Linked DNA regions of Homo sapiens: region 2 is linked to region 1. Evidence: promoter capture Hi-C in 16 types of primary human blood cells and fetal thymus (Javierre and others, 2016). All regions are on one chromosome and are shown on one strand. Each heading gives the region's core, a stretch centred on a gene start or on the middle of the fragment in contact. The rest is flanking DNA. Distances are from core to core; before and after follow the strand shown.

Evidence for each region. Contacts are between HindIII fragments. The CHiCAGO score rates a contact against its expected background, and 5 or more counts as called.
Region 2: a contact is called between a fragment that was not itself captured here and the fragment with the promoter of ZNF275 in region 1, in 2 of 17 cell types (monocytes and total CD8 T cells). The highest score is 5.4, in monocytes.

What each region holds. Positions count from the first base shown.
Region 1 is chrX:153,332,852-153,335,551 of GRCh38, reverse strand. It overlaps ZNF275 (zinc finger protein 275), which reads right to left and starts at 1,399. Exons shown (of 4, transcript NM_001367757.1): 1 at 1,267-1,399. It overlaps MIR12129 (microRNA 12129), which reads right to left and starts at 90; the gene lies at 15-90. RefSeq lists silencers at 1,066-1,145, 1,236-1,605. The HindIII fragment of the contact is 4,020 bases long and covers 1-2,700 here.
Region 2 is chrX:153,474,817-153,477,656 of GRCh38, reverse strand. It overlaps a transcript of HAUS7 not described here. Among named protein-coding and RNA genes, the nearest start is that of HAUS7, 5.7 kb to the right of the region's middle. RefSeq lists enhancers at 1-446, 447-947, 1,143-1,682. The HindIII fragment of the contact is 1,097 bases long and covers 970-2,066 here.

The DNA of each region.
Region 1 (2,700 bases), core at 150-2,649:
TTCTATATATAAAACTCAGTGTCTGACCCAGTTCAGTACATCCCCCTAGTAACATTTTGTGGGGATGTACTGAACTGGGCCAGATACTGTGCAAGTGGCTTCTACTTGAAGGTCCAATGTTGCAGGGTTGGGGGAAGGTGAGGGTGGGGAGGGGCTGAGGCAGCATTAGTACCTAGGGGAGGTGCTGTTCCAGCAATCCCATCTGAAATTCTCTTGTAAAGGAAAAATGTCGGGCTGAGGTTGAAGAGGAAATGTTTCATTGACTAAGGAGACTGGAGGGGGCCGCATGCCCAGCTAGGTCAAGGCTGGCTGGAGGGCTTCAGTTGGAACAAGGTGGCAGGGTGGGACCTCTGGGAAGTGGGCCAGGAATGGGGGCAGGGGGTTGTTTGAAAGGGACCATGGACTTTGGGCGGCAGGCGAGTGGGGGGTGTGTGTGGAAAAGATATATAATTAATCACCCAAATATAGACTGGAGGAGCCAGCAAAGGAGTTTAAGGGGGCGGGGGCACTGAAGTGGGAGATGGCGGCCCCCAGTAGGGCGACAGAAAAAGACTGGTTCAGACAGAGGGCCTTGAGCTCGGCTCACCGCCCCCTTTCCCCTGCCTCTCCACAGCTCTCTCTCTAGGCTACCTACCGGCCCCCATTCTCCCCACCAAGCTGAGGCTTAACCGCCCCCCCCCACTCCCACCCACTCAAAAGGAAAGGAGGGACTCCCCAGCGGGAACTGTTCCCACCTGGCCCACCCTCCCAGCTCCCAGACTGCGGCTCAGTCCCTCCCCTAGACCAGGGAAAAGTCCTTTAACCCCCACCCCTACAATGCCCCCTCCAGATCGGGCTCCTAGGAGCTAGGGGCAGGGGTCCTTTCTCTCCGCCCCTGAGCGGTTCCCATCTCCTAGCGTCCCCCAAAGAGCAGAGCAGGCCTCTACACTTTAGCGATTCCCACCCGGGATCGCCGCCCCCCGCCCGCCTCGGGAAGGCCTTCGGGCCTCTTCGTACTCGTCATCCGGGACCCGTTCCCTGCTCTGGCCCGCCCAAGGCCGAGCAGCTCTCCAACTGCCCAGAGACGCCCCCTCCCTCCACCGTGCACTCTTCTGCGGCCCGCACACTCGCTCCAGCCCCGCACACAGTCCTGCACCCCCTGCACATCCTCTCGCGGCCCTGCACGCTCACTCAGGTCCACACGTCCTCCTGCCGCCCCCACGATCACCTCCGCCCTGCGGCCCCTCCAGCGCCCCCCGCACATCCTCCCGCGGCCCGCACACTCACCCAGGCCCGGCGGCGGCCGACGCGCGGCCCTCGGTGGAGCGGCGCTGGCGCGGCCCAGGCAGGCCTGGCGTGGCAGGAAGCGCCACGGAGCCGCCCGTGCCCAGCCGAGCTAACAGCCCCGCGGCGCGTTTCCGGAGCCGTGAGCGCCGCCGGGGGTTCTGAGGGAGCGAGGCCCCGCCCCGGCCCCAGTCTCGTCCCCGATTGGCCCGGGAAGGGGGCGTGGCGGGAAGGGGGCGGGGTTTGGGCGGGGGCGGACTGGGCAGGCAAGTCTGATCAGCCTGCGGGGGAGCGGCGCGCGCGGGCTGGACGCTTGGGTGGAGGTGGGGAGGAGTGGAATGAGCGTGCGAATGAATGAATGAACGAGCGAACAAATCGACCAGCAGACGAAGGAAGGAACGAAGGAATGGAAGGGACCTCTCCCCCTTGGGCATCTTCAAGATGGTGGTGGGGGGAGTGAAGGGTCGGGAACTGAGGGCGAAGACTGGAAAGCCAGTATTCTGTATGAATGGAATCAGATCGTATGTACTATTGTGTGTCTGGATTCTTTCATTCAACGTGATGTTTTCAAGATTTATCTATGTTGTTGAATGTGCTATCGCTGAGTAGTATGCTATTGTTTGGATATATCAGAGTTGGTTTGTTCATTCACCAGGTTATGATCTGGGCTGTTTCCAGTTTGGGCGATTATAAATAAAGCTACTATGAATATTCATGTACACATCTTTGTGTGGACATATGCTTTCATTTTTCTTGGGCAAATACCTAAGAGATGAATTGCCACATCACAGGATAGTTTTATGTTTTATAAGAAACTGCCAGAATGTATTCCAAAGTGGTTGTGCAATTTACATTCCCACCAGAAATGTATGCGAGCTCCTTTTCTTTCCCATCCTCATCAACATTTGAGGTTGTCAGCCTTTATTTTTAGCCATTTGAAAGGGTGGGAAGTGGCATCTCATTGTTATTTCAATTATCATCTCCCTGATGACTAATTATGTTGAGTATGCTTTTATGTGCTCACTGGCCATTTCTATATCTTTCTTTGTAAAGTGTCTGTTCAAGTAGTTTGCCCAATGTTATGTGCAGTATATATATATGTATATATATGTGTGTGTGTATATATAGAGAGAGAGACAAAAGAGAAAGCTAGCCCATTATGTGCAATGTGTGTGTATATATGTGTGTGTGTATGTATGTATATATATATACACACACATGTAGTTCCTGAGAAATTTTATGTTTTCAACTTTCATTTTAGATTTAGGGGGTACATGTGCAGGTTTGTTGCCTGGGTATAGTGTGTGATGTTGAGGTTTGGGGTACGAATGACCCTGTCATCCAAGTACTGAACATAGTACACAATAGTTAGTTTTTAAACCCTTGACCCCTCCTTCCCTGACCCCTCTTGTAGTTCCCATTGTTTGTTGTTCCCAT
Region 2 (2,840 bases), core at 269-2,768, 140 kb before region 1:
GTCCTGCCTGGGGGCAGCTGCCGAAGCTGGGACAGGGTAGCACTGGGGCACGGCAGACTTGAAGTATGCTGCCAAGACTAAGTGAAGCTTGCCCCAGGATCCTGCAAGACAGAGCACAGTCGACCCCCCATTTTACAGAGAAGGAACAGAGAAGGAGTGGGGCTCACCCAAGTCTCGATACCAGAGGCCAGTCCTCCTGCCTCCTGGTCCAGGCATCGCCTGAGAAACGGGGTAGGTCCCTGCCTGAGCTGAGCCTAGCACCTGGGGTCGGGAGACTGGACGGTGATGGGAACCCCGGCTCCGCCCCTCCCCCTGCCTGGGGATGGATTCTGGAATCCTGGCCCCCTACCCATTTCCCCTGTTTGCGCCGCTCCCCAGGCGCTGACTAAACATCCTGCCATCTGGTTCCCATTAGCTGGGCTGGGGGTGGGGGAAGCCTGCTCCCAGGTTTCTCTGGCACAGCCAGCCTGGAGGAGGGAGGGACTCCGCTCCTACCCACCTAGGCAGGAAGGGGTGAGGCCTGGGGTGCTCTCAGTTCCCAGCTCCCATGGAGGCCTGGCCTCGCTGCCCTTCCCCTGGTCGGGAGCCTGGTGGCTGACCTGGGTGGGCCCCTGGGGAGTGGTACTCCTGCTGCCCACTCTGTCCAGTCCCAGGGCACCCGGCCATTGTGGGGACCTTGAAGGAACCCCCATGGAGCAGAGCCAGCCTTCAGGGGCTCAGCAGAGCCAGAGGCTCCCGGCAAGTTTCTGCCTTGCCCTCCCCCCCGCCCAAGAGCTCACTGACGGACTTGTGCTGAGACAGGCAGGCCCCAAGCCAACAGTAATCCCGAGCCCGGTGTCTGGAGCAGAGGGTGGGAGGGCTGTTGGGATTTTCCAGGAACCAGGGATGCAGCCCGAGGGTTGCTGGAAAGAGCTTTGGGCTCCCAGTTCTGCCATGGACGGACTGGCCATGTGACATCAGGAACAAGCTTCCCTCCCTCCTCAGTGCCCCAGTCTTCTCATTTCAGTATGGTGGAAACAGGCTCCTTAGAAAGTTCTAGAATCTGAGAGCCAGAAGGCGCCTAGAGAAGCTGGATTACATGATCAAGGTCGCTTCTAGTTGTACAATCCCAGGATTCTAAGGTCAAGGAAGGGACTCCTGTCCCTTGTCCTCCTCCCCCTTCCCTTCCATGTAGCCCACTCTTCACACACTCATGCACACACATACCCTCTACAAGCTGGGACTCAGATTGGTAGCCTGGAGGATGCCAAAGCAATGCTGTTTGTCCCTCAAGGCTGTCATCAACGAGGACTGGACAGTGGATTCTTTGCTCACTGACAGGGGATCAGGTGAGGACCGTGAGAAAGTGACATTTGGGCAGAGGCATGAGTGAAGAGGCCATGGCCATGCAAAAAGCCACAGAAAGAGCCCTCCGAAAAAGAGGGATGGCCAGTGCAGAGGCCCCAGGTGAGAAAGGGTTGGGCCCAATTTGAGCATTGGCAATGACAGCAATGTGGTGGAGCAGGCTGAGTGAGCCGTGGGAAGGTGTCTGTGGCGGTGGGCTGGCTTGCCTTTGTCCTTGAAAGAATCAGGGAGCCACCTTGGACTGCTAAGCAGAGGAGTCACAGGATCCGGCCCCCCTCAGGCTGTGGGGTGGAGCACGAGCAGATGTACTGGGGGCATAAGGGTAGGAGGTGGGAGCCACCGTGTGGCAGCTGAGCCCGCCAGGGGCCAGGTGATAGTGGCTGGCCAAGGGTGGAGGCGGGGTTGCGAGGAGGAGCGGGTGGGGTCAGGAGCATTTGGGCCTCAGGGTCAAGGTCTGGGGGCTGTTCCTGCTCTCCTGCTCTCCTGCTCTCTGCAGGAGCACCTACTACGTGCCTGTCCTTTTCCCAGGGCCCAGGGCAGCCAGAGACACAGCCTTGGGGTGACCCCCAGAGAAAAGGAACAGGCCCATTCTTGAGCTTTCCACATGTTGTCTGAGTGAAAACGACAGCAGTGTGTGGCACATGGGTGGCATTCTCTGGGGACATGCGCCTGCAGCTATCTTATATGTCAGTAACAATATGGGGCCTTTCCCCCTTAAAGCTTGGAGAAGAAAAAAGCCCCATTTTCCATGCCCTCTTCCTGTTGCCCGCAACTCTTCCCTAGAGGAAACCCATCTTATTTTAATGCTACTGAAACCTCAGAGGATCTGGTCCCAATTAAATGACTTTTCTTGCAGACGCTTTGGTGAGCACTAAATGCTTGAGACCTGGTGATCCTGAGCGAGAGAGCCTGCTGCGGGGTGGGGGTGGAGAAGAAAAAGGAGGGAAGGGGAACACAGGACCCCAAATGGGACAAGGGTGGCTGCGGATGGGGTGGAGGGTGCCAGTGGAGGGGGACTGCAGAGGGTGGCACGCAGCAGGGACCAGCCCATAGGGAGCAGGGCCGTGGTCGGGATGGGGGCAGAATAGGGGCCAGTTTCCCACCCTCTTTGCCCGTGTGAAATTCGAGTTCATTCCCGCCCATAGCGTGGCTTCGCTGGACTCCGTGTGAAAGCGGCCCCGCCCCATCCCCTCCGGTGGGCTTCGAGGACCTCGGCAGGGAACGGAGGTTGGGCAGAAGCTGGAGCTCAGGCCCGGCCGGGGAGCTCGGGCAAAGCAAGAAGGCGAGGCGGGCGCCCCCTCCCCCGGCCGGCCCTCCGAGCGGGCACGTTCGTGTTCCCGTCCTGGCGCCCTCGCTTCCCGCTCCAGACGCATGTGACTCAGCCCCGCCGGCCTTGCCAAGCCGTCTAGACCCGAGCGTCTCCCCGCGGAGGGGGCGATCCCGCCCGCCGCCGTTTCCTTTGCCGCCGCCTGCGCGGCTGCGCCCCGCGCACGTGC